7 separate regions of the Homo sapiens genome follow, and regions 2, 3, 4, 5, 6 and 7 are each linked to region 1. The links are contacts of gene promoters, found by promoter capture Hi-C in blood cells and fetal thymus (Javierre and others, 2016). All regions are on one chromosome and are shown on one strand. The core of a region is centred on a gene start or on the middle of the fragment in contact, and the rest is flanking DNA. Distances in the headings are between cores, read along the strand shown. Region 1 holds the start of R3HDM2 (R3H domain containing 2). Region 2 holds the start of BLOC1S1 (biogenesis of lysosomal organelles complex 1 subunit 1). Region 3 holds the start of SARNP (SAP domain containing ribonucleoprotein). Region 4 holds the start of RPS26 (ribosomal protein S26). Region 5 holds the start of PA2G4 (proliferation-associated 2G4). Region 6 holds the start of NABP2 (nucleic acid binding protein 2). Region 7 holds the start of STAT2 (signal transducer and activator of transcription 2).

The links. Contacts are between HindIII fragments. The CHiCAGO score rates a contact against its expected background, and 5 or more counts as called.
Region 2: the fragment with the promoter of BLOC1S1 here is called in contact with the fragment with the promoter of R3HDM2 in region 1 in 1 of 17 cell types (fetal thymus); the score reaches 5.7 in fetal thymus.
Region 3: the fragment with the promoter of SARNP here is called in contact with the fragment with the promoter of R3HDM2 in region 1 in 5 of 17 cell types (naive CD4 T cells, total B cells, non-activated CD4 T cells and 2 more); the score reaches 8.5 in naive CD4 T cells.
Region 4: a contact is called between the fragment with the promoter of RPS26 here and the fragment with the promoter of R3HDM2 in region 1, in 2 of 17 cell types (fetal thymus and monocytes). The highest score is 7.2, in fetal thymus.
Region 5: a contact is called between the fragment with the promoter of PA2G4 here and the fragment with the promoter of R3HDM2 in region 1, in 1 of 17 cell types (monocytes). The highest score is 7.5, in monocytes.
Region 6: a contact is called between the fragment with the promoter of NABP2 here and the fragment with the promoter of R3HDM2 in region 1, in 1 of 17 cell types (monocytes). The highest score is 6.4, in monocytes.
Region 7: the fragment with the promoter of STAT2 here is called in contact with the fragment with the promoter of R3HDM2 in region 1 in 3 of 17 cell types (non-activated CD4 T cells, monocytes and naive CD8 T cells); the score reaches 8.9 in non-activated CD4 T cells.

The regions. Positions count from the first base shown.
Region 1 is chr12:57,428,826-57,432,731 of GRCh38, reverse strand. It overlaps R3HDM2 (R3H domain containing 2), which reads left to right and starts at 1,689. Exons shown (of 24, transcript NM_001394031.1): 1 at 1,689-2,012. It overlaps R3HDM2-DT (R3HDM2 divergent transcript), which reads right to left and starts at 1,616. Exons shown (of 2, transcript NR_185976.1): 1 at 1,302-1,616. RefSeq lists a silencer at 1,788-2,257 and an enhancer at 2,438-2,547. The HindIII fragment of the contact is 10,065 bases long and covers 1-3,906 here.
Region 2 is chr12:55,714,796-55,717,383 of GRCh38, reverse strand. BLOC1S1 (biogenesis of lysosomal organelles complex 1 subunit 1) reads right to left here and starts at 1,338. Exons shown (of 4, transcript NM_001487.4): 1 at 1,188-1,338; 2 at 379-451. The coding sequence starts at 1,332. It overlaps BLOC1S1-RDH5 (BLOC1S1-RDH5 readthrough), which reads right to left and starts at 1,350. Exons shown (of 6, transcript NR_037658.1): 1 at 1,188-1,350; 2 at 379-451. It also overlaps a transcript of ITGA7 not described here. RefSeq lists enhancers at 634-873, 1,154-1,293. The HindIII fragment of the contact is 4,864 bases long and covers 406-2,588 here.
Region 3 is chr12:55,815,787-55,819,692 of GRCh38, reverse strand. It overlaps SARNP (SAP domain containing ribonucleoprotein), which reads left to right and starts at 1,969. Exons shown (of 11, transcript NM_033082.4): 1 at 1,969-2,027. The coding sequence starts at 1,992. It overlaps ORMDL2 (ORMDL sphingolipid biosynthesis regulator 2), which reads right to left and starts at 1,652. Exons shown (of 4, transcript NM_014182.5): 1 at 1,581-1,652; 2 at 520-694; 3 at 200-351. The coding sequence starts at 693. The HindIII fragment of the contact is 4,326 bases long and covers 1-3,116 here.
Region 4 is chr12:56,040,668-56,044,573 of GRCh38, reverse strand. It overlaps RPS26 (ribosomal protein S26), which reads right to left and starts at 2,656. Exons shown (of 4, transcript NM_001029.5): 1 at 2,405-2,656; 2 at 1,972-2,149; 3 at 1,081-1,211; 4 at 1-455. The coding sequence starts at 2,407. The coding sequence ends at 420. RefSeq lists enhancers at 1,968-2,227, 2,368-2,697, 2,146-2,935 and a silencer at 2,848-2,907. The HindIII fragment of the contact is 3,314 bases long and covers 257-3,570 here.
Region 5 is chr12:56,102,375-56,106,280 of GRCh38, reverse strand. PA2G4 (proliferation-associated 2G4) reads right to left here and starts at 1,722. Exons shown (of 13, transcript NM_006191.3): 1 at 1,456-1,722. The coding sequence starts at 1,543. ERBB3 (erb-b2 receptor tyrosine kinase 3) reads right to left here. Exons shown (of 28, transcript NM_001982.4): 28 at 2,776-3,906. It overlaps LOC105369782 (a long non-coding RNA gene), which reads left to right and starts at 1,862. Exons shown (of 2, transcript XR_944995.4): 1 at 1,862-1,993; 2 at 2,363-2,467. RefSeq lists enhancers at 1,448-1,667, 1,678-2,027. The HindIII fragment of the contact is 2,269 bases long and covers 659-2,927 here.
Region 6 is chr12:56,222,137-56,226,042 of GRCh38, reverse strand. It overlaps NABP2 (nucleic acid binding protein 2), which reads right to left and starts at 1,701. Exons shown (of 7, transcript NM_024068.4): 1 at 1,602-1,701; 2 at 1,108-1,209; 3 at 532-670; 4 at 348-419. The coding sequence starts at 1,186. RefSeq lists a silencer at 1,613-1,852 and enhancers at 2,584-2,878, 2,295-3,228, 3,710-3,906, 3,229-3,906. The HindIII fragment of the contact is 18,635 bases long and covers 1-3,629 here.
Region 7 is chr12:56,358,446-56,362,351 of GRCh38, reverse strand. It overlaps STAT2 (signal transducer and activator of transcription 2), which reads left to right and starts at 2,245. Exons shown (of 24, transcript NM_005419.4): 1 at 2,245-2,294. APOF (apolipoprotein F) reads left to right here. Exons shown (of 2, transcript NM_001638.4): 2 at 163-1,784. The coding sequence ends at 1,127. RefSeq lists enhancers at 1,763-1,852, 1,923-2,102, 3,178-3,347, 3,179-3,378. The HindIII fragment of the contact is 2,677 bases long and covers 62-2,738 here.

The DNA of each region.
Region 1 (3,906 bases), core at 440-2,939:
CAAGACTCCGTCTCAAAAAAAATAAAAAAAAATCTGGAACTTTGGTTTCATTATTGTGCCTCAGGTTTCCTCATCTATAAAACAGGTATAATAATAGTACCTATTGTATTGAGGATTTGATACTAACAATAGATGTAGAATGCTACACATTTTATATTGTACTTACATACACATAATACAAATATTAGCTATTATTTCCTACTGGTCATCACTGCCTGGTCTGGAACTCCTGAGCTCAAATGATCCACCTGCCTTGGCCTCCCAAAGTGCTAGGTGTGAGCCACTGCGCCCGGCCAAGACAAAAAGTTTAAATCGTGGTGAAAAGTGGCAGGTTAGATCAGTTCAGTTCAGTTGTATTTTTCTTCCCCCGTTGTTGTTCTCTAGAGGGTTGAGAGAATTTGGGGGCAGGAGGCAGTGATGACCAGGAGAGAGGGCTGGGCAAGGTGGCTCACACCTGTAATCCCAGAACTTTGGAAGGCCGAGGCGGGTGGATCACCTGAGGCCAGGAGTTCGAGATTAGCCTGGCCAACATGGCAAAACCCCGTCTCTACTAAAAATACAAAAAATAGCCGGGTGTGATGGTGCGTGCCTGTAGTCCCAGCTACTCCGGACGCTGAGGCAGGAGAATCACTTGAACCTGAGAGGTGAAGGTTGTAGTGAACCGACATTGCACCACTGCAATCTAGTTGCCTGGGTGACAAAGCGAGACCCCATCTCAAAATAAATAAAACAAACAAACAAACAAACAAAAAACGCCAACCAACCTGGAACTTGCTCATCCTTGAAGGAAAGATGAACTTCATGCCTCTATGACTTTGCTGGAATCTCCATTCTTACCTCTCTAGTGAACTATTTATAGTCTCAAGATTAGCTGGAGTTTCACCTGTAGTTTCTCTGTAACTTACTCAATCTCTTTTACCGCTAAGAACGAATTGCTGTTCCTTGTGTTTCCATAGCACATTTAAACCTTTCTATTATAGCACTTAAATTGTACTATAATTATTTGACTTTTTTTGCCTACCGCAGTTTCTGTCACAAGGTAAATATTTAATGGTCGAATTCTACAAAAGACTACATTGCTTCTTTGAGGGAGTTTGGTCAGTAAATTATCCACACACACATAATCAATAACTAAATTGATTCTGCCTAGAATGGACAAAACGGGGGAGGCTGGACATTTAAGACGATTTTTGAGAACTGTATCTTAGAGAGGGGATGATGGTAAGAATGTGATCTTAATAGGACAGACTGAGTTCCTCCTAGGTCGGTTTTTTTCATCTTTACGTAAAATGGACATTTACCTGCTCAACTATAGTTATCCACGTATGCAACAAATACCGAGTGTACGTTCTTTTGGTACAGGAGTTACTGCCCTAAGTGAAAGTGCTCTGTAAATGGAAATTACTTTAGAATGATCACTATTAGTATTATATTGAAATCCAGGGTATTCTATCTGACAGACTTGAAGGGTTTAAGGAGGACCGAGGCTCCCAGTGACTCCGGATTGGTGTCCTGACACAGGTAACGCGGAAGGAGGAGAGGGCGAGCGAGCGAGTGCGAGTGCGCGCGCGCCGGCGGGAGTGCGTGCGGCAGGCGGTAGGCCCCGCAGGGCTGCTGAGGGGCACGCGGGAAGCCAGGAAGCAGGGACGGCCGGAACGCAGGACGAGGTGACGACAACGCCGGACGTAGTGACGTAGCGCGCAGCCGCAGCGGGGGGCGGACTCTGGGCTTTTCTTCCCCTTCTGATTTTCCCCTCCCCCCTTTTCTCCCTTTCCGGGTTTGGTTCCCCCCTTTTCTTCCCCTCTCCCCCCTCCTTCCCAAGCCCCTTTCCCCTCCCCCGTCCCAGTCCCCCCTGCTTCCCAGCCCTCGGCCCCGGGGAAGCCCCGGCCGAGAAAAGCCCGCCCCCAGAAGCGCGCCGCCGCCGGCCGTCGGGGCCGAGCCGCAGCCGAGCGGCCGTGGGCCCGGGCGGCGGGCGGAGACGTGGGCGCCCTCCCCGCCAAGGCCCGTGCGAGGTGAGGCCACCTCCCGGCCGAGGGGGCGGGCGGCCCGGACGGCCTGTGGGGAGGGGGCGTGGCGGCCGCACGGGCGGGCGCGAGGAGGCCCCGCGGCCTGGGTTCCTCGCGCCCGGCAGCCGGTCCCGGGGACGATGGGTCAGGGTCGGATGGCCGCGGGAAGGACTGCTCCAAGTGTGCGCTGCTGGAGAGAAGCTGGGGGCGCGGGGCGGAGGGCGGCGGTGCGGGGGCAGGGGGGTGGCGCCACCTGTGGCCTTTGCGGGGTGACCTAAAAACTATTGCGCCCTTCCAGTGCTTCGGGGTGGCTAGCTCCGTGTGTTTCTTGGGTGGCGGTTTTCCTTCGAGCGTGGAGCATGGAAAAATAGGACGGAGAGGTGTAGAAGTGTTTAAAATCATGCTGGTGTCCAGGTTTCTTACAGGGACGGGGATTTGAGTTGGCACATACAGGGAGATGTTTCTATAGCTTAAAACTTGGGCCTACACTAAGCTCATAACTACTCGAGCCCCTGAAAACGCTTCGATTCGTTTTCCCGTAGAGCTAACATTTTTCAACATTTGTGGCCATTAAGTCTCGGAACTACCAGGAATACTGACTTAGAGTGAATTGTCATTGGATAATGATGAGAAATGACCGAATAACAATCCCAGAACTGCGTTAAAACGGAAGAAAGAAAAGTGGAAAAGTTTGAATTCAGATCCCAGTTGGATGAATATCCTTGTACATAATGTTGTTCAAATAGATAACTAAGATTGAGAAGCCTGAGTCCTGTCTGATATGCGTAAGCCACGTGGAGACTCAAGGAAGGAGGAAAGTGACAGGTTTCACTTCAGGAATATCACAAATTCCTAGCATTTTCTTGTATTTTTAGATAGATTTGCAGTTGAATTATTTGTGGCTCTTCTTCCTAATGCTTTTTTTTGTTGTTGTTCCACCAATATTCCCCCCCCACCCCCGCCCCCCTTTTTGTTGCTGGGGTATCAAGACAAAAGGTTGTATTTTGTTTTTTGAGACAGGGTCTCAGTCTGTCACCCAGAATGGAGTGTAGTGGTTCCTTTTCGGCTCAATGCAACCTCTGCCTCCTGGCCTCAAGCCGTCCTCCTACCTCAGTCCCCCAAGTAGCTGGGAGTACAGGCATGAGCCACCACTCCTGGCTGATTTTTGTAGAGACGGGTTTCACCTTGCTGCCCAGGCTGGTCTGGAACTCCTGGGCTCAAGTGATCCACCTGCCTTGGCCTCCCAAAGTGGTAGGCTTGAGCCACCGCGCCGGGAAAGACAAAAAGTTTAAATAGTGGTGAAAAGTGGCCGGTTAGATTAATTCAGTTCAGTTTTTAGTTGTATTTTTCTTACCCTGTTGCTGTTCTCCAGAGAGTTGAGAGAAAAGATAACTTTTTTCTTGAAGGCCTGATGAACTCCTAACAAGTTAAATTTCAGAGTTGAAGTTCCATTTGTCTTTGTGTCCATTATATGATTAGTAGAGCTTCACAATTTTTTTTTCGTAGGGATGGGATCTTGCTATGTTGCCCAGGCTGGTTTTGAACTCCTGGCCTCAAGTGATCCTCTGGCCTCAGACTCCCAAAAGCACTGGGATTACAGGCGTGAGCCATTGCTCTTGGCAGAGCTTCACAATGTAAAGTTTTAAAAAAATTTGACAAATAAAAATAGCATGCCTGACTGGCCGGGCACGGTGGCTCATGCTGTAATCGCAGCACTTTGGGAGGCGAAGGCAGGTGGATCACCTGAGGTCAGGAGTTTGAGACCAGCCTGGCCAACATGGTGGAACCCCGTCTCTACTAAAAATACAAAAAGTAGCCAGGCGTGGTGGCAGGCACCTGTAATCTCAGCTTCTTGGCAGGCTGAGGTGGGAGAATCATTTGAACCCAGGAGGCGGATTTT
Region 2 (2,588 bases), core at 89-2,588, 1.7 Mb after region 1:
AGAGGGTGGGAGGCAGAGGAGAGGGTGGTAAGCTGTAATGAAGGAGGGTGCTCTCCCTCCTGCTGAAGTGACAGCTGGACTTGGAAGGGTGAAGGGAGGTGGGCAGATGGCATCAAGTTGTAAATGCCAGGGAAGTTAACGTGGGGAAGGGGAAATCTGGCTGCTTCTCTAACCACGGCAGCTGTTCCTCCCTTGCCCAGTGCTAGGACTCAGAGTTGACTCAAGTTGCTCTACAAAGAGCTGGGAGGGGCGGGGTAGGATAGGGGAATTAGTGGAACATCCCACCCCTTCAACAGCTATTTGAGGGCCAGACTGGCCAGTGCCTAAACTTGGGCGGGGTGGGGAAGGAGGAAACTGATGTTGATAAGAGGTCCATACCCCACATTGAGGTGATCCACCAAAGCTTCTGTCAGGCAGGTCGCTGCAGTGATAGCCTCTCGCCTCCTCTTTTCTGGGGAGAGGGGGAAAAGGAATTGGAGGGGAGACTTGGTTTTTTGAGGGGTAGTGTTAAAGGTTCCCTACCCATCCATTACTATTCTGCTAGTTGCCGAAATTTCTTAACTAATCTCTGAATGCCGGAGCTGAAAAGGACCTTGCAAAACATAGCGCAACCTCTTTCATTTTAGAGATGAGGAAACTGGTACCCTGGGAGGGAAATGGACTCACTCAGGGACGCCAGGAAGTCAGCGGCAGCGCCCAGGACTCCTGACTCCCAGGCACTCTTTCTCCACTACTCGGCCGCAGAATCGGTAACTCCGAGATTTCCAGCCCGGACTCAGGAAACAAGTGCCCCACCTCCGTTCCGGTGGTTTCAGGCCTCCAAGAAGCCCATCTCTGGGGGGTTCCCCACACCCTCCTCCCTCCAGAGTCGCTCCTTCCCGCCGCCAGGACGAGAGGCTCCCAGGGCCAATAGGCAGGGCGCTCCGGGGCAGGGGCGGGGCTAAGGTGCGGCAGGTCGGGGATTGGGGGCGTTGCCGAGGGGACCGGAGTATTGCCCAAGGGACCGGAGCCAGTTGGCAAGGGAAAGGAGTTTCAAAAAAAGCCTCTCTGAAATTCCCTCTCCCCCATGCCCGTTGCCCGCTAGCTGGCGTCTTTCCCTGGATATGGTTAGTTACTCGAGATCCAGGCTCCGGGCTGAAGCTAGGCCGCGGCCGAAGAGAAAACGGCCGACAGGATATTTGGCTCACCCTGCAGCTCCTTGCGTTCATTCTGCTTGGCCTGGTGTTCTTTTAGGAGGCGGGACAGCATGGTCACGTCGGGCTGGGGGCTGGGTACGCCGGGCCCCCTCCGGCTCCGGAAGCTGGAACGCTCACCTCGGCTCCCCGGGGCCATGTCACGTGACCGCTGTGTCACGTGAGGTTGGGAACCGCCCTCTTGAGACCTTGGGTGAAGATCTTGGCGGGGAAGAGAGGTAGAGGGTTGCGGAGGGCAGGTGAAGTGTTCTTTATTGGGAGCTTAGTTTTTGGTGAGTGTTGGAAGAAGTATTTTCTAATACTTATATTGCCAAGCCAGTTTTTAACATTTCCTGTGGATCTCAGGCTTCGAGGGCTGGTGGTGTCAGGCCGTCTATCACCGTTTAATTGAGGGAGCAGAAGCTCCCTGGCCTCATTTAAATTATTCTCCTTCCCTCTCCTCACCTCCTGGCAGTGCTAGCTGGTTCTCAGTTGATTCCCAGTTCCTTCCCTCAAGGAGAGGATGCTTTCCTGTCTCTCCCAACCCTCTTTCTTCTCACTACCCCACTGAAGTCTCTCAGCTCTGGGTGATCATTGTAGAGAAGCATTTTAGGCACTTCAGACAGCCTCCTAGGGAGCTTGGCTAACTTGGCGGGCTGTGTGAATGTAGAATTTCATCTCTGTCCTTTTGTGGTCAGGAATGCGAACCCATTTCAGTGTTAGCAGAAGCGTAAGTGCTGTGCCAAAGTAAAAAGTAATTTATATAAGGCCTCTGTGAACTAAAAAGAAATGCTTCCGGGATTAACTCCAGCGAGAACAATTATAAACATCATGAGCATATTCTTGCTACTGGTACAATCTCTCTCGGTGCACCTTGCACTAACATGTTGGGTGACTTTGGGCAAGTTGCTCACCATTCTAGGTTATAGTTTTCTCTTTAGTAAAACTAGGAGAAGGGATTGGATTAAATCGGTGGTTCTCAACCCTGGCTAAGCATTAGAATCTAAACATTAGAATCACAGAAATCACAAGGCTTATAAAAATGCCGTGATTAGCCGGGTGCGGTGGCTCACGCCCGTAATCCCAGCACTTTGGGAGGCCGAGGCGGGCGGATCACGAGGTCAGGAGTTCGAGACCAGGCTGACCAACATGGTGAAACCTTGTATCTACTAAAAATACAAAATTTAGCCAGGCGTAGTGGCACAAGCCTGTAATCCCAGCTACTCAGGAGCCTGAGGCAGGAGAATCGCTTGAACCTGGGAGGCAGAGGTTGCAGTGAGCCGAGATCACGCCACTGAACTCCAGCCTGGGCGACAGAGTGGGACTCTGTCTCAAAAAAAAAAAAAAAAAAGCCTTGATTCCAGACTAATTAAATAGAATCTAAGGAGTGAAGACCAAACATCACTATATATATGT
Region 3 (3,906 bases), core at 720-3,219, 1.6 Mb after region 1:
CAGCAAGGAATGCTTGATTACAGTATTGACTGTAATCTACATTTTACTGCTCTCTGTAGGCTTAGAACTAGTATACCATAATATCTTCAAAGGGTTTTAGATGAGAAGTCTGCTTTTTAACAGCTTCCCTATGGGCCTTTCTACCTGGCTCTTGGAGCTCTTTCTAACCCAGCATATCTCATTTCCCCCATAGACTCACAGCACAATAGGAGAGATGCTGAGGAACTTGCGGGAAGAGGTAAACTGGAGCCCATAGTCCATTTGCTCCCAGTGTGTCAGTAGCCGAGCCTTTCCTTGGTCAGGAGTCTCAAAGGGTGTCCCTTTCACCGTATGAAGGAAGACATACGTAGCCTGGGAACAGGGAAGGTGGCAGTGTGAGGGGCAGAAAGTAGTTTTTCAGTCAAAGAATTATGTTAAGATCCCAAAAGGAACACATAAATCCCCAAACAATTGGTGATTTTATTTTGCTTTTGGTTGGGAAACCCTGGGGTGGGTACAAGGGCGTGGTTTAGTGCTCACCAGGTTATGGATGACGTTGGTCAGGGTCCAGACAACAGGAATGCTGAAGAAGGGGATGCTGAGTAGAACCATATGCAGCAATCCTACCAAGATGATGTAGGCCAGCCAGATGCCTCGGCTATTCATCACTCGGGTGTTGGGGTTTACTTCGCTGTGTGCCACCCCCACATTCATCCTAGCCGTAATGGGGGATCAGGCAGGAGTCCAGCTCAGTTTTTTCTCAACCCCTCTTGAGCTATCTCCCAGTTGTCTCTCAGATAGCCCCAATCCCCTGAACTCTATTGGGAATGAAGAACTTACCCATCACGCAGAAAATAAAAACTGAAGACTTGGGGAAAACTTTAAAAGACAAGAAGAGTCCTCACTACATTTCAGAGACATAGTCATTATTGCTCTGATCTTTACACGTCAACTGTAACATGAAGGTGTATGTGTAGGCTTGGGGCACTCACTTCAGGGAGCAAGGGAAATAGGAGTATCTGACTTTGCTGAAGAAGTTAATAACCATGAAGAGGTCACGTACACCCAGAATTCCAGGCGAAAGTCATGGAATCATCAAAGAACCACTAAGAAGGGATGACAGAGTAAAGCTCACTCTGGTCCCCACTTTGTTCTCTGGGGCTTGTCCACCCTCTCTCTCACCTCCGTGGCATGTAAACAGTCTGCATCCCCATTACTTCTCTCAAGCGTGGGGCACGACAACAACTTGCCCACGGCTTCTGGACTGGGTTAGGAAGGGACCTGAGCTCAATACCTCGAAAGGTGGAGCCTTGGCTCTGACTCCAGGGGCAGCAGTGATTATCTGAACTCGGATCTTTAAAATTGTGGTAGCTCTAAAGCTGATGATGTCTGGTTAGGAAGCGGCTCTTGCCCGCCCCAGCCCCACCGCCAGTTCCTTAAGCCCGCCCCATGCCCCTCCCAGCTTCCTCCTCATGTTCATCGGTTTTTTCAGGGCTCCCTTCAGCGCTCCCCTCTCAGTATTTAGGTCACCACTCCCTCGGCGCCCCTTTCGCCTCCCACCATTTTTCCTCAGCAACCCTTACAGTCTTTGCAGCTCCTACCTGCCAGCTCAGATCCCCGTCCGGCTATGGGCGCGGCGCCGGCTACCACACCTGAAGTCTCCAGGAAGTAACGCCTCTCCTTCTGCCCCTTTCCTATTGGAGGAACAGAATCAGCGCTGCCACCACCCATTGGTTGGTGGTCTGTAATGCAGAAGCACAGTTGGTTGCCATTTCTGTCGTTCGCAAGATACAGTGCCCGCCCCTCTCCCAGTTCCACCTTTTGAAAGAGGTGGGGCAAGCTGCCTAGAGAAGTGAGAGCGACGTCAGCTATTGACCAATGGGAAGAGCTGATGGTATGGCGTGGGAGCAAGAGTGACAACGATTGGTCAGCCTTGCATCTCTACGCCTAAGGCGGGAGCTCCTGGAGGCGGAGGCCGCGGGTGGGGGCCTAGTGGAGTGAGGGGTAACAAGATGGCGACCGAGACGGTGGAGCTCCATAAGCTAAAGGTACCGTGAATCGGGGAAGGGCTGAGTTGGACTTTTCTAGGAACTGAATTCTACAGGGTAGCTTGCGCCTTCTCCTACGTCTTCTCCGTGCAGCCTTTTCCACTTCGTTTCTCGGCTCCCGCCGTAGCTCTTTTGTGCCACCCTTCCACACTACGCCTTCCCTAATTTCCCATTTCTCCTCACGGCTTTACTGCTATATTTATTTGTTATTTCTGCTTCCTTCATCATTGTATCGTCCGTCACCCTTCCCCACTGGGTTGTGTAAGTGCCTTCTACCTGTTATACTCTTCGTTGCTTTTCAGGGCTGCATTACGTCAGTTGGTCCCTCCTTTTTGCCCCATGTCGGAGCCAGGATCCGTTTTTCTTCCCTGGGATGATGTTTCCAGTCTGTCGTCCGAAGCTGAGATTTCCCTGTTAGCAAATGGTGGCATTTTTGTGTATTTCTGTCTAAATAGGTACCAGACACTCAGAAAATACTTCCACTCCCCTTTTCTAGGTGGGATTACGCCCCAAGCCGAATTTTGAAACAGGGAGAGGCCTCTCAGAAGATCGGTCTCGCCTTAGAAGCCTGGGGTTGAGGAGGTCTTGAGAATAGTAGAAGTACAGACACCTCAGATTTAAAAGTTTTCGAGTTCTGTCACGCGGCTCTCGGCCCGCCAGCCTTCCTCACACACCATCTCCAACCACCAGAGAGAACTCACACCTGCAATATTTGGGAAAAACAATTCCAAGGTTAAGATTATCTCTGTTCCATTTCATATCTCGGGTGGGCCCTGCATCTCCTGGTGTTACCATTGGCTGACACTGAATCACAGAAGCTATTTTAAATTGTCTTATGAGACTCTTGGTAGTTTTTTCACACTTAGATATATAAAAAAGTTAAAAAAATATATTAAAAAGAAGAACATTTTAAAAAGTATTTTCTTTTAGGGTAAATTAAGATATCTTGAGTAATTGTCTGTTTGTGGTTTCACAAGTAGTTTTCCCATTAGATGTTTTGGACAAACCAGGCTGATATAGCTGAAACTGAAAAGTGATCCTTTAAAGCTCGAAAAGTTTTTTTTTGTTTTTGTTGCTGTTAAGAAAGCTTAAGGGTAGTAAGGGTAGGGAGAGGACCCTTCTTTAGTCACTTATTAGTTGACCCCAATTAGTCTTTCTGTGAAACTGATGTTTTTCTTACTCTTGGATTCTAAACTCTGTTAGTGGGTTTTTGTGTTATTCTGGAGTTATTGTTAACTTGATGATACTGAAATGCATAGACTATATCAGCGGTCTCTTGATCTTTATTGTGATGAGTTAAAAAAAATTGAGCAATCATCTCCACTTTGTTTATATATACTGTACTTATAGAAATTGTATACTTCTGGACTGTTATAAAATATAACACAGAAAAGGAATTTTTGAATGAGATAAAAAGGAACTATATATAGAAGAGCTAATATTTTCTTCCTATTTGTCCTATTTTTGAAATCCCTGGAGTAAGTCACCAGCTGCCCGATGACTTACTTGCATTTATAGATTGTGTTGGTTTATGGAGTTCCTCCTTCCATCAAATCTGTATTTGTCAGGTCTATATAAAATTTGTATTTGATTGGATAAGTAACTTTTACGTAAAGTCCTCTGACCTGATTTCAGTGTTACAGTCTAAGAGAACATTAGGCACTCCTGACAGCCTAAAAAGGACTTGCTCTTTAATCACATTTGCTTGTCTTTGCTTTTTCTCTAGAGCACTTCTTAACCTTTTGGAGGTCACAGATATCTTTGAAACTCTGATGAAAGGTATGGACCCTCTCCCCAGAAAAAGGCATGTACACATATTTTGCATGCAGTTTGAGGGGCTTCATAAAACTACCTTGTAGCCCCGAGGAGTCCATGGACC
Region 4 (3,906 bases), core at 1,407-3,906, 1.4 Mb after region 1:
TCAGAAGTTCAAGACCAGCCTGGACAACATAGTGAAACCCCATCTCTACCAAAAATACAAAAATTAACCAGGCATGGTGGCAGACACCTGTAATCCCAGCTACTCAAGAAGCTGAGGCAGGAGAATCACTTGAACCCGGGAGACGGAGGTTGCAGTGAGCTGAGATCACGCCACTGCAATTCAGCTTGGGCGACAAAGACTCCGTCTCAAAAAAAAAAAAAAAAAAAAGAAAAAAATTAAATTACATGAATAAGCTTTCTTCCCCATGAAAATAATGTGTGTCACTTCACACTTGGTCTAACACACAAAATCCCCACCTTATCTGGCACAGATACACTTAACATGCAATATTAAGTACAATTTCCATTTTATTTTTCTCCAGAGAATAGCCTGTCTTCAGTCTTTAAGAACTCAGCTCCTTACATGGGCTTTGGTGGGGGACGTGGGGCAGCACCCTGAAAGACAAAGAAACAAAAGAGTAAATTAAAACCCATGGATCCAAGACTCCCTTCCCCCAAAGAACTTGACCACCATCCTCTCACAAACTGATGTATTCAGGCTACAAATGCATGGGAAGCTGATAGAGGTGGAGGGAGAACACTACTCTGCATCCTAAAAACCAATTCTGATTCTAACACTGCTTTGCAGTGTCTCTAAGCATGTTCAGGTGTGGGTCTCACCTGCCTTACAGCTTAACCTGAGGCACAGACCTTAATTTGATACCCCCTGCACCACAGGAGGAAGCAACTTTTTTTTTTTTTTAAGAGACAAGGTCTCACTTTTGCCCTGGCTGGAGCGCAAGTGGTATAATCATAGCTCACTGCAACCTCAAACTCCTGGGCTCAAGTGATCCTCCTGCCTCAGCCTCTCGAGCAGCCAGACTATAGGTTCACACTATCATGCTTGGCTTCCTTCTCAATATTTTTTGAAGAGATGGGGTCTTGAACTGCTGGTTTCTAGCAATCTTCTTGTCCCAGCCTCCCAAAGTGTTGAGGTTACAGGTATAGGACACCCTGACCCTCCAGGATGAAATTTTAACCATCACTCCCCTGGCTTCCATTCTCCTTTTAAAATACTCACCGCAGGTCTAAATCGGGGTGGGGGTGTTCGGTCCTTGCGGGCTTCACGAGATCGATTCCTGACTACTTTGCTGTGAATTGCACAACTCACACAGTAATGTAGCTTCACATACAGCTTGGGAAGCACATAGGCTAAGGAATAGAAAATAGAGTTATACTGGTATTATATACCTACCTTGCTTTTTTGTTACATGAATGAAGAGCACCTTACATGTTTACGTCAATTAAAACTAAACCTATTTAAATGCCTGTCGGGCACATAAAAGCACCCCCAAAGCACCTGTTCAGCCCAATACCTGAGCACATATGTATAACCCTCAGTTTTACAAGTGAATTAACATCCCACGTGAGTTCATCTTGACACCGCAAGGACCAGACTGACATTCTAAATGCAATAAACCAATAATCCAGTTCCTTCTACACCTACACCCGCCCTAATGCCTACCCTGAACCTTGCTCTTTCTATAAAAGGAAAAAAACAAAGCGACGTTCTTATTGCTCCAAACATCATCCTTGCACACCAAACTAGACGGCCTCCATTCTCGAAACGTTGAAGACATTCTTCCTCACCTGTATATTTTCACAAATATTCAAATAATCAATAGCACAAGAATTGTCAAATTTACCAAGTTTCTAGTTTTTGCAATCTCATAACCGAAACAGGCAAACCTTTACCTCAGAGTAAAGGCTGTGCACTCTATCACAAAGTCACCCTCTGCCCAGAAAAGAATCAAAACGGCAAACAAGAGAATTCTCTTCTACCAGTAACAACCTTAAATACGTGGAAATTGCCTGAGAGGCTCCAAAGAACAGAGCCTCCAAAAGGGCGAAGTTGGGCGAAGGCTTTAAGATACTGGGATCCTCACACAGTTCGCGCCGGTGACCCACTTACCATCGAAGACGCTCGCTTCAGAAATGTCCCTGACTGCTGCGGCCTCCACTATGTTTCGAATGACGAATTTCTTAATGGCCTTGTCCTTGGGCACGCATCGGGCACAGTTAGTGCAGCGAATAGGCTGCACGTGGCCGCGGCCCTTTTTGGCACGACCATTGTTCCTTCTTTTCTTTGTCTGCGACAGGATGGGAAAACTGTTAGGAAAACGGCGCAACTCACCCAGCCTCAGTCCCTTTCCGGCCACAAGCCGCACCGGCAGCCTCCAGGAAGGCGCCGCTCGGATCTCCTGTTTCTCCGCAAATCCCGCCGACCCCCAGAGCAAATGAAATGTACACTCGGTCCACCCCTCAGCCGTGCTCCAGGCTCTCACTTCCCCACAATCCCAGAGTCTGCACCCGAACCCCCACCCTCACCACGCAAGAAGACTCACCATCTTGGAGGCACGGACCGGAGAGAGGAGACGGTGCCTGGCAGGGCCCTCCTATATAGCATGAGATCCCTACGCGGACACCGGGAGAATCCTTAGGAGACGGGCTTCAAGAACGGCAACTCACTTTACTCAAATATTCCTTTACATTCAGCATTTCTGCTGAAATCTAGGGTGGAAATGCGTTCCTAGTGTTTATTTATCCATGGAACAAAGTGCACATGGGACTATTTAGCCGGATGGCGGAAGAAAATCGAGGTTATGTGTCTCCCAGCAAGCCTTGCGCCGCGCCGACTCGGAAGCAATTCTGGACGATGCAGTTTTCCGGTATACGCGACGCTAGGCGTGAAAGTTGCCAGACGCTGGACCACAAGGCGCACTCGTTATTAGAGGCCAGAGAGGGACAGATGCTTGGTGGGAATTGTAGTGCGAAGCCAAGAGGCTCCCCCCTCCCCCCCTTCCCCCCTGCCCCAAGTGCTTAGACCGAAGGCGGCGCTGCGCCACCGGGGGACGCCCTGGGCTCATTTCTCTGACAGTCCTTCTACTAGGTAGGTGTAGGATTACGAAGAGGAAGGCCTGAGAGGAAACAAGCATTTTGTGAATCCCTCCTTCCAATATGGAGAAAATCCCACAATGAAGTGCATTGAGGCTGGGGCTATTTCTCATTCATCTTTTTATCTCTGGCACAGTGCCTGGCCCTGTGGTAAGCGTCTTTATAAATATTAACTCATTTAACTTTGAGCAAGCCTATAGGTAGCTACTATTATTATCCTCACTTTAAAGATTGAAGAATTTAGCCCGGCCTGGTGGTGGGCGCCTGTAATCCCAGGTACTCAGGAGGCTAAGACAGGAGAATCTTGAACCTGGGAGGCGGAGTTTCCAGTGAGCCGAGATCGCGCCACTGCACTCTAGCCTGGGTAAAAAGATCGAAACTCTGTCTCAAAAATAAATAAATCAATTAAAAAAAAAGATTGAAGAACTGACGTGCAGTAGGTATTCTGGCTCCGCTGTACTATGCTGTATGTCACCTAACAAATGGATGGAGGAATAGCCTGGACTAATGACTTAAACGTTTTTCACCCAGATTCATAGCACGAATACATTTTACATTGGTACCCAGTACACACACAAACACGATTACATGCACATGCAAAACTGAAACACAAGCTTTATGAAACGATACTTACCCTTGTCATAGGTGTGCTGGTATGTTCTATTCTTTATTTTTACTTAATCTTTCTGTTCTCTATTTTAATAAATGCTGATCAAAAACCACGAAAATTATTTCACCACTCATTAGTGAATCTGACCCCTAATTGAAAGATTATGTGTAAGCTCCATTTACCTCTGAAGAGCCATCGGAAAGACTTAAGCCTTAGGCTGGGTGCAGTGGCTCACGCCTGTAATCCCAACACTTTGGGAGGCCAAGGCAGGCGGATCACCTGAGGTCAGGAGTTCAAGACCAGCCTAGTCAACATAGTGACACCCCACCTCTACTAAAAATA
Region 5 (3,906 bases), core at 473-2,972, 1.3 Mb after region 1:
TATAGGCATCAGGGACAAGAAGGTAGACAGAATTGCTGACTCGAAGCCGATGCACTGTTAAATGTTACCGCATTCCTTTCTCAGACACTCTAATTAGGTGTTAGGAATCTCAATCTATATAGACTTATTTCCTCATAAACAAGTGCATAAGCCAAGGAAACTTAATCTAAGGTCCCTGGGTTTCATTTCGGGGGATCATGGCTTATCTAAAAGAAATATGAGGCCAAAGTTATAAACTGTAAGAGATTTTCTGATTCAAACCACTAGTATCTCAAATACTAAAAGGCACCAAAAACCAGGGTACGATACTAAATGTCCACTGTGATATAAAGCACAGGTTTGACTTTTGGTATCTCAGTTTTGGTGATTCTTTGAAAGCTGGTAAAACTCAGATTTTCACCCACAGGACGGGAGGCATCCTAAATACCTGTTCCCCACCATCTTTGCTGTTAAAACCATTTAAAAGCACAATGACAAGCAGTTTGTATCTCCCTAACTGGAATAAAATGGAAAGGCTAACTGGAAAGAGAGAAAAGAGAAAGTGGCATCTGCCTAGAGTGACAGGCAACTGCTGAGATCGTCAGAGCACACCTGGAGTAAGGATGACTTGTGAAAATCCTAAAATCAGTCCTCCCTTTTCCAGTAATGTTCACAAGCTTGCCTAGTTGGGATAAGACGGAGACCCCAAAACATTTGAGTTGTCAAGTCACTGAGAACAACAAATGTGAATGCTAACTAAGACTATCTGCACAGATTGGAAAGGTGGTAGTAATGAGTAACTTCAAGAAAAGCCATATATATCTCCAAGACTTGCATTAGAAGCTCCAGGAGTGCTCTCCAACGGTCTCCTTAGCTGGCCCAAGGTAGAAGGGGGCCCCCACCAGGGTAAGAGCTGAAGTAAAGAAGGAAAGGCTCCAGCAAAGCACGTGGTGGGGAAGCTGGTGGTGGGGAAGCTGGTGTCAGGGACACTAGCGGAGTAAGAAGGGGGCCAGCCATCCGCAATGGGACCCAGCAACACGTGCCGGCTTGGCTCCTGACGCCCCGGAGACGCTACAAAAACAGAGGGGCACTTCTGTCGCCAATAGCTGGGCGCTTCCTTTTCGAGGTGGCCTCGCCGCTGCCAGAATCAGAGGAAGCAATAATCGGGAATGAAGGATAGGAACAAGAGAAAACACGTCTTGCCTCCTAACAAACGGCCTCGGGTCGGAGCCTGCCAGGGTCCCCTCTCTGCGCTCATCCTGGTCGCCGACCCGCACCTCCATAGACTTCAGCCTGGGCCTGCCCGCTCAGGTCCCAGGCGCGACACCGGGTCTTCCCACCACGCCGTGCCCAGCGGACCGGTGCGGGCCCCTCAGTAGCTCAGTCCGCATGACCCCTCCGCTCCAGCCCCTTCCGGGCCAGCCTGTTACCTTTCCCTATCAGCCTTGATTCCCCGACCCCCGAGGCCGCACTCACTGTTGGCGATGTCGCCCCCCATCTTATACTTGGTCACGACCAGGTCCTCAGCGATAGTTTGCTCCTGTTGCTCGTCCTCGCCCGACATCTTCCTACTACCACCACTGCAGCCTCGTTTCCCCTGAGCCGCCGCCGCCTCTGTCTCCCTTCCCAGCCACAGGCTGTGGTCAGAGTCCCCTCGATCCTCGAGGAGAGGGCGAGCGAAAGCGCGAGCAAGCAAGGGAGCGGGCAGGCAGGCGAGAGCGAGAAGCTGCGAGCGCGCGGGCTGAGGCGCAGGGCACGCTGGGACAACTAGTCCTCTCGGCCGCCAGACTCTAGCCGCTCTCGAGGGCCTTCGAACTACAATTCCCAGCCTGCCTCTCGCGCTCCTAAGCCAGGCCCTGGGGCCTTGCCCTCCAAGGGCCTCGCACGCCGGAATCGCCGGGCACTCTGGGAAGGGTCAGGCTCCGGCGGGAAGGCGGAGCCGTTGGGGAGCTTGAGGGGAAGCGTGGTCTCTCCCGGAAAAACCACTTCCACCGAGAACGCTGAGCGAGAGCCAGTAACAGAGAGGGGCGGGCTGAGGGGAGAGGGGCGGAGCTACGGCGGGGAAATAGGTTTAAAGTCGAGCGGGCAGGGGTGGAGTAGAGTGGAGCCGCAGCGGGTGGGCAGTGTCTACACCTAGGTCGGGGAGGCTGGGTGCGCCCTTCTTCGGATCCCTGGGTCGGCTGGCGAAACCCGCCCAGCCGGTCCAGTCGTCCTCCGAAGCTGGGAGAACAGGGAGGGGCAGACAGGTGGAAGAAGACCAAGGGTGCTGGTAACGGGGGCTAACTGGGCAGCCAGACACCGGAGGGATCATCCATTTAAAGGCCTCGCAATCTAGAGGCCGGACTCCTAATGAAGTAACATGACTTTATTGTTCCAATAACAGGCACCTGGATGGAGCACCTAAGGGAAGTGTTCAGAAAGACATGTTTGTTGAGAGTTCTTACCGTGAAAAAATAAAAAGATTTGATGACTTTTCTAAGATAATGAATTCAGAAGCATCTGGAGGTTTCAGTGTTTGGCCTCTGAAGGAGGGCTTATAGGGCTTTTTATAAGTCCTAAAGCACGTAGGTTCTTTTTGTTATTCCCAATTGGTTGCCTTGTAGATTCCTACTAAAACCCTTAATGAAAAGGACTATGCGCTATGGTTGTTCTAAAGAAATAGAAGTAATAGTAGGACTAGAGAAAGCTGCATGGGACAGAGTAGCACTGTCAGAACACAGAAAGGTGAGTATCCACTGCTGAGGAGCAGATCTCTTATCTAACATACGAAATGTCTTCATTTGACAGACAGGAAGCTGAAAAAAAACTTTGGCATTTTTATTCAGACACGTATAAAAACAAAACAAAAAACTTCAGTGATACAACAGACGTTTTCCCTTAGTTCCCCATCCAAGGGGACAGAGGTGTGCAGCTGAAGCTGGATCTTTTTTCTGTCCTACCTGGAAGCTTCTCACTGCTGGATGAGAATGGCTTCTAAAAGTGGATCTTGGGGATCCTTGTGAATTTGCCCTCGGATAAGGAGTGAAGATCATTTACGGCACATGTGGATTATGGTTTACACAAAGATGTCCAGTTATTTTTCCTTCTGACTACCCCCACCACCACTTCCTGAGATGAGATGTCTAGGTATAGGAGGATGTGGCTGTTGGGGTTAGACTTGATTCAGTGCAAAAACAAGAAACAGTGCCCCTTAAACAAGGGCTGTAACTTAAATCAGTTTTTCTTGGCACCTTACAATAAGAGCACATGCACAGGAATTGGGAGGATTTTGCATCCTGGATCTACTGCTTAATTTATTTCATCTCTTTAAGGCTCAGTTTCTTTTTTTTTTTTCCCCTGTAGAGACAGTGTCTTGCTATGTTTCCATAGGCTTATCTCTAATTCTGGGCTCAAGTGATCTTCCCATCTCAGCCTCCCAAAGTGCTGGCTGGGATTACAGGCATGAGCCACTGCACCCAGTTCTAAAGTTTTTTTTTTTTTTTTTTTTTTTTTTTTAAAGAGATGGGGGTCTTACTATGTTGGCTAAGCTGGTCTCAAACTCCTTGCCTCAGGTAATCCTTCTGCCTCAGCCTCCCAAAGTGCTGAGATTACAGGCATGAGCCACCATGCCCGACTTCCCTTTGTGTAAAATGAGATAATATGTATGTCACAGAATTGTTTTAAGGATGATAAAGGACTAAGTGAGATAATGTAGGTGAAGTTTAGTATGATGCCTGGCTCATAGTTAAGTGCTGAATTATGATAGTAATCAATATCTACTCCTAACCTCTTTCTTCACAGATTTTAAGCTTCTGTCTTTCTAGGGGGTTAAGAGTCATAAACCAAAATTACACTTTCCTCTGCTAGGTTTCCTCCCTTTCCTCTTCTTGACAGTCTGATGGGAAACAAAGGCACACATAAGAGCCTAGTTCCAAGTAGTCAAGAGCC
Region 6 (3,906 bases), core at 452-2,951, 1.2 Mb after region 1:
ATCACTTCAGCCCAGGAGTTTGGGACCAGCCTGGGCAACATGGCGAAACCCCATCCCTATAAAAAATACAAAAAAATTAGCTGGGTGTGGTGAAGCACGCCTGTAGTCTCAGCTACTTGGGAGGCTGATGTGGGAGGATCACCTGACCCCGGGAGGTCAAGGCTACAGTGAGCCCAGATCATGCCACTGTACTCCAGCCTGAGCGACAGAGACTGTTTCTCAAAACAAACAAACAAACAAACAGAAAAAGTCCAGAAATGAGGCTTGGACTGCACACCCTATGCTGCCTCCTTGCAAACCCCTTTGCCCTGGTGCTTCTTCATCCCAATCCCCAAGACAGCACTTACTCTCCAATCTTCTGCAGATCACCCCCACGGCCAGTATATAGTGTCAGACAACCTTTGAAAACTGAAGCGTACCTATGGGAGGCAAAAAAAGCAAAATTCAGTACTCAGAAGTGTTATAGGGACTGTTAACCCCACTCTTGATTGTTGTTGCCTTTGGAAGGCCAGAAGTCACCAGCTGACTTACCCTTTGGTGAGCCGGATAATGTCCCCAGGCTGGATCAGATTGCCAACATCGTCCCAGACAGAGATATTGATGCTGCCTGTTTTGTCCGCCACTTTGCAGGTCCGAACCTCATGCCCGTCCTTTGTCTTGGTCACTCGGCCTGAACGGAACAGATAAATCGAGGTGGGAGGATGGTCAAATAAATGGAGTGGTATCTCTCAGAAGGATGAGATGTGGATATTGGTGGAATGAGGGAAAAGGTGTACAAACAGGGGAAAGCCCAAATCCCTGGGGCATAAAGGGTTGGGATTGTGGAAGGGGTGGTGGAGGGTGGAGGTGGGAGTTCAGGGGCCAGCACCATGGAGAGGGCCCTGAGTGGAAAGAGGCCCGCGTCGCACAGGAGGTCTAGATCTGGCAAGAGTTCTATCTACCCTATACCTGACTGCAACTTTCTGTCCCAGGGTCGAAGAGATTGGGAGTGAGGAGTGTCTTGCAGCTTGCCTTGCCATCCCCATAGCAAGTTAAGAACGCAGACAGCGTTCTTCCCCTCCTGCCCCCGACCCCCATCCCGCGAACCCGCCACCCCAGTATAGACACCTGTCTCCAGCACAATGAAGATAAGGTTCAGATTCTTGAGCCCAGGCTTGATATCCTTCACAAAGGTCTCCGTCGTCATGCTGCCTGAGCCTCGGCACCCCACTGGATGGGGAATAGAGGATGAAGGCTCAATGCTTGGATCCTTTGCCCCCATGCTCCACTTCCCAAGGCCTACCTACCCCATTAGGCTGGGGTCAGGCAGCCTCAACCCCTCTAACCCTTCTAAAAGATTAAAAAAGAACATCCCCGGAGGCCTCCAACTTCAGGATCAGAATTTGGGGGTCTCTGGACAGGCTGCTTTGGGGCTGGAAGGCCCCCTGCCGGGATGCTCTTTTAGTCTCAAGCCGCGAAGTGGCGGAGCCGACGTAGACAGGGGTAGGGAACCCGGTGCACAGCCAGGGAGTAGAATCTTACTGGCCAGATCTTCCGGAACCCTCATCCCGACAAGCCGGGACTCGGTCCATCCCCTCCCCTACCCGCAGCCCACCACCCACCCAAGCCAGCCGGCAGGACTGTGCACGCCGCTGAGCAGCCCGCAGGGGGAGCCACAGGCTCCGCTGCCGCCGGATGCTGCCCCGTGGAACGCGGGAGTGCGGACATTCCCGGAAGTTTCCCCCGGCTGGCCTCCTCCGGCCAATCAGCACCGCCCGGGCGCGCCCTGCGTCCCGCCGCCTGCCCTGCCCAGCCAATCGGGATCAGAGACTCGTGCGCCGCGAAGGGGGCGAATTTCAGGTATTAAAGGAACCTTGGAGATAGTTGGCTCTGTAGGGGGAAAAATCCACCACTAGAAGGCGCACAGGGCCCCCAGTTTTCCTTAACTTGGCTAGGGAGAATGCACTTAGGTTCTAAGACGTTTCTTTCCAAAGAGTGACACAATGGGAAAAGGAGCAAGGGCTTCGGAATCTGGCGGACAAAAGTTTGAATCCTGGCTCAATGCTTCACTTCATTTCTCGACTATTTAAACATATGTAATTCCAATTCCGCAAGGCGCGGTGGCTCACGCCTGTAATCCCAGCACGTAGGGAGGCATAGGCTGGAGGATAGCATGAGTCCAGGAGTTCCAGACCTGCCTGGGCAATATAACGAGACCCCATTCTCCACAAAAAGGGAAAAAAAGACAAAAAATATGTAATTCCATCTTACGAGAAAACGGAAGTTATATTTAAAAAAGTGCCTTGCACACAGTAGGCACACACGGTTTCCTCCCTTTTTATTGCTCTAACCGTTATCTTTGTTCCTGATTTGGGGTTCTCATCTTTAATGCACTACCCAGCTTGGTCAAGGTCTCTGGGAAAAGTGGCATTTACACCAGAGACAAAAGGCAGGCTCACCCTTCTTGGAAGAAATGGAACCTGCGACAAAGAGAGAAACATTGTTAGTCCCTTTTTTTTTTTTTTTTGAAACAGGGTCTCGCTGTGTAACCCAGGCTGGAGTGTAGTGGTGCAATCTTGGCTTACTGCAACCTCCCACCACAGCCTCCGTAGTAGCTGGTACTACAGGTTCGCACTACCACCCTCGGCTAATTTCTGTATTTTTTTTGTAGAGACAGTTTCGCCATGTTTCCCAGGCTGGTCTCGGACTCATGACCTCAAGGGATCCGCCCACCTCGTCCTCCCAAAGTGCTAGGATTACAGGCGTGAGCCGCTGCACCTGGCCATACTACTCTTCCCCGCCCCGCCCCACCGCTCCACCCCGGCAAAGGAGTCTTGCTCTGTCGCCCAGGTTGGAGTGCAGTGGCGCGATCTCGGCTCACTGCAATGCAACCTCTGCCTCCCGGGTTCAAGCGATTCTCCTGTCTCAGCCTCCCGAGTAGCTGGGATTACAGGCGCCCGCCACCACGCCCGGCTACTTTTTTTGTATTTTTAGTAGAGACGGGGTTTCACCACGTTGGCCAGCCTGGGCTCAAACTCCTGACCTCGTGATCCACCAGCCTCGGTCTCCCAAAGTGTTGGGATTAAAGGCATGAACCACCGCGCCCGGCCATACTACTCTTATCTTACTTATCTCAGAGTCCCGCTAGAAGACAGCAGAAAGGAGGCCTGAAACTTTAGTTCCTTTTGGGACCTGTCAAATTGTCCACAAAAGGTAGCTAGCTCTGTATTGTTGTGTATAAACAAATTACATAAAGATATGTGTGTATGTGTGTATTAATGTGCATTAGCATTTGCTTAGCCAATGTCCACAATAAATACCATACTATTTAATACCAGATTAGTCTAGGAAGTCATGTGATTGTAATGCCTTGGTTTGCTTAATTAATCCCTTATCTGCTCACGGAGCTCTTTAGGCTCCACATTGACTTCCCTTGGATCCCACGTTCTCTACCGCCCACATCCCCAACACCACGGTGTTGTAAGCTAAGGAAATCAAACCCCAACTCAGGAAGAGGGAAATTTTTTCTCCCTTCCTTCCTCTTAGGTGTTTCAGGGAACTCCACAAGTGTTCGGGGAGCCATCGTGGATACGGCAGGAGAGCGCCTGGGAGAGAGGCAGACAACCCGTTGAGCACCCCAGATCTAAGCTTTGCGGTCAGACTCCCTCACTCCCCACCCCGCGGCCGCCTTGTTAACTGCAATATCCATTCCCATGACAGGAGTCAAGGGGTTACGAAGCTCTGGGATGCTGACCAGGGCTCTGGAAAAGGGAGAGGGGCCGGACCCGCAGCAGGTCACGCTGCAGGCCTGCCTCTCCGCAATGATCTCGCAACAATCTGCGTCAGCTCTAAGACACAAGTCACCTGCACCCCTCCAAAGCGAAGCGTGGCCGGCCAGGCCCACACGTTTTTGCCGGGAAGAACATA
Region 7 (3,906 bases), core at 996-3,495, 1.1 Mb after region 1:
ACTGCACTCTAGTCTGGGCAACAGAGCAAGACCCTGTCTCTAAAAAGAAAGTACAAAAGCTTGGAAGCAGGTGATGTATGAGGTGTCCCCCTAACTGAGTCTTGGGCTCACCATCGCCCTTAGGGAAATGGTTTGTATGTTTCGGATTTCTCCCCTTTCTAGGGTACTCTGCTCCAGACATGCGTGGCCTCAGACTCATCATGATACCAGTTGAGCTGCTACTTTGCTACCTCCTGCTGCACCCTGTGGATGCCACTTCATATGGAAAGCAGACAAATGTCTTGATGCACTTTCCCTTGTCCTTGGAATCCCAGACACCCTCCTCAGACCCCTTGTCCTGCCAATTTCTGCACCCAAAGTCACTGCCTGGTTTCAGCCACATGGCCCCTCTACCCAAGTTCTTGGTAAGCCTGGCTCTAAGGAATGCCCTGGAGGAAGCTGGTTGTCAGGCTGATGTTTGGGCTCTACAGCTACAGCTCTACCGCCAGGGTGGTGTGAATGCTACACAGGTCCTCATCCAGCATCTTCGAGGGCTCCAGAAAGGCAGAAGCACAGAGAGGAACGTGTCAGTGGAAGCCCTGGCCTCTGCTCTGCAGCTGTTAGCCAGGGAGCAGCAAAGCACAGGAAGGGTCGGGCGCTCCCTCCCGACAGAGGACTGTGAGAATGAGAAGGAGCAAGCTGTGCACAATGTAGTCCAGCTGCTGCCAGGAGTGGGAACCTTCTACAACCTGGGCACAGCTTTGTATTATGCTACTCAAAACTGCCTGGGCAAGGCCAGGGAACGAGGCCGAGATGGGGCCATAGATCTGGGATATGACCTTCTGATGACCATGGCTGGGATGTCAGGGGGGCCTATGGGTCTAGCGATCAGTGCTGCACTTAAACCTGCATTAAGGTCTGGGGTTCAGCAGTTGATCCAGTATTACCAAGATCAGAAAGACGCAAACATCTCTCAGCCGGAGACCACCAAGGAGGGTTTGAGGGCCATCTCAGATGTGAGTGACTTGGAAGAAACAACTACTCTGGCTTCTTTCATATCAGAAGTAGTAAGTTCAGCTCCCTACTGGGGGTGGGCCATAATCAAGAGCTATGACTTAGATCCTGGGGCTGGGAGTCTTGAGATATAAAAGAATGTGGTAACCACAGAATTAATAACTGTACTACCCTGACAAGCTATATACATGTCTTCAAAATTTTAATCTGATTTATCCAGGAGGAAGGCTGTACAGTAAAACGTAAGAACGTAAATGTTTGGGTGTTGAAGTCACAGGGTTTGGTTTCGAATCTAGGCTCCACTTGTTAGAGCCTCGGTGATCACTGAATAGTAACTTCTTTCTTGAACTAAGATCAGTTTTGAAGTTTCTAAAGGAGATAGAATGATTTTAACCTCAATGAGTTGCCCTGTAAATTTAAAATGATACAATGAATCTAAAATGCTTATCACAGTACTTTCAATAAATAGCTATTAGCCAGGTGCGGTGGCTCACGCCTGTAATCCCAGCACTGTGAGAGGCTGAGGCGGGATGATCACCTGAGGTCAGGAGTTCAAGATCAGCCTGGGCAACATGGCGAAACCCCGTCTCTACAATAAATACAAAAAATTATCCTGGCGGAGTTATGCACGCTTGTAGTCCCAACTACCTGGGAGGCTGAGGCGGGAGAATCACCTGAGCCTGGGAGGTCGAGGCTGCAGCGAGCCGAGATCGCGCCGCTGCATTCCAGCCTGGGTGACAGAGCGAGACCATGTCTCAAAAAATAAAAATAAAAAAAAATTGTTTTCATTACCTCAGCCCTCCTCTTCCTATCCCAAGGCGTCGAAATTCCGGTCCCACCCCTTCCCATGGAGCCCTTGGCGTCTCCAGGCTCCTCAAGCTAGTTTCGGTTCCGGGGCTCACGCGCGGGTTCTCGAAAATCAGCTGTTTCAGTCTTGGGCTAGTCCACTAATTGGACTCCTCCCCTCGTAGAAAGTGCCTACTTGAACTTCTCCACCAATCGCTGAAGCTGCAGGTGTGGTTTCGGCTCAGCTTGTCCCGCCCTGCGGAGGGGCGGAGTTGCGGCGGCGCCAGTGAGCTCGCAGTCTGGGAAGGGCTTGACTGAATGGCAGCCAGTGTCGGGGTGGCGGCTGGGAATGGGGGCCGCTCCGGACTTCCGCTGCCAACTACAAGGGGGCGGGTCCGAGGGGGGTTAGCCGAAGTTGTAGGCGGGGCGCGAGGTTCTAGTACCCGAGCTCATACTAGGGACGGGAAGTCGCGACCAGAGCCATTGGAGGGCGCGGGGACTGCAACCCTAATCAGGTACGGGCCCTGAGAGGGTGTGCTGGGGTAGGGGTGGGGGTGAGAGTGAGAGTTCCTCCGAGGGAAGGGCGACTGGCCCCAGGGGTTACCCCCTGGAGAGGGTAGCTTCGGTCCCCAGATTGAAATAGGAGCTGTCGCCTGCTCGGTCCTCGATCTTCTTCTGTCCAGCCTATCTCCCTAACCCTAATGCCCCTCTCCCAAAACTGCCCTGCAGCTTCCGAGACCCGGAATCTGGCATTGTTATGTTGGTTCGGTATCTGACGTTTTTCCCTCTGCTCTGCATTATTTTTTATCTTCACCAAAAAACGATGTTCAAAGATAGATAAATCTAAAAACAAAGATAGATAAATCTATTATCCTTGTTTTGTTAAAAAGTATAAGCTACTGAAAGATGAAACGATTGCCTAAGGTCACACACAAAATTCAGTTCATTTCAGAAAAGCTTCTTGAGTGCAAAATATGTGCCTAAGAATGAGAGATAATGAGAAAAAATTGTTTCAGCCCTTAACCTCAGTGTTTGCAATCCATTTGGGGAGACCAGGTTTTTTGTTTTGTTTTCATATTTGAATCTTTGCTGACTTGCTCCTTTAATATCAGACACTTAAATCCTCAAGAATTGGGACCTCATCATTAATTTTTTTTTGGAGATGGAATCTCACTATGTTGCTCAAGCTTGGTCTCAAACTCCTGGGCTCAAGCCATCCTCTCGTCTTGTGGGCCTCACAAAGTGCTGGGATTACAGGCATGAGCCATCATGCCTGGCCACCTGATCATTTTTTTAACTTTTTTTTGGTATCATAAAAGCAATACAGATACATAGTTTTAAAAATCAAGCACTACTAAAAGAGTTAAAATGAAAATAGCCCCTGCCCAATCCCTCCCTTCCCTTGTTCCTGCTGGAGGTAGAAAGGCAGCTGATGTTATTCATGTTAGTAGAAGACTCTCCCACCCCAAGCATTTCTCTTTATTTTGTAATAAAATCATGTGACCTTTTTAGACCACAAATATGCATGAATTCTGTTCTGTTAGGCTCAGGCTGCAACAAGCATAAGTTTCAGTTTCCTAAATAGACACCAGCTGGCAGTGAGCAGGGAACAGTGGGGAGAAAGATGCATGGGACAGCCTGCTTGGTGACAGGCAAAAACCAATTTGTTGTTCTTTTGAGACAGAGTCTTGCTTTGTCACCCAGGCTGGAGTGTAGTGATGTGATCTCTGCTTACTGCAACCCCTGCCTCCTGGGTACAAGCCATTCTCCTGCCTCAGCCTCTTGAGTAGCTGGGATTACAGGCAACAATTTTAAGTGAAGTTTCAGGATCTCACAAAGTTGATAACCTATAATCATATTCAAGATTCACAGGTCATAAACGTGTCATATTCTTGGGATTGAGCCACCCATTGCACAGCATTTAGATGTCTTCTAGAATGGAGCTCCTCCTTCCTATATGGAGGGCAGTTTATATGGTGTACTTACCTGACCACCAAAAAGATTTGGCTCCTAAAAAAGCTTCAGGTGGCCGGGCATGGTGGTTCACCCCTGTAATCCCAGCACTTTGGGAGGCCAAGGTGGGCAGATCACCTGAGGTCAGAAGTTCCAGACCAGCCTGGACAATAT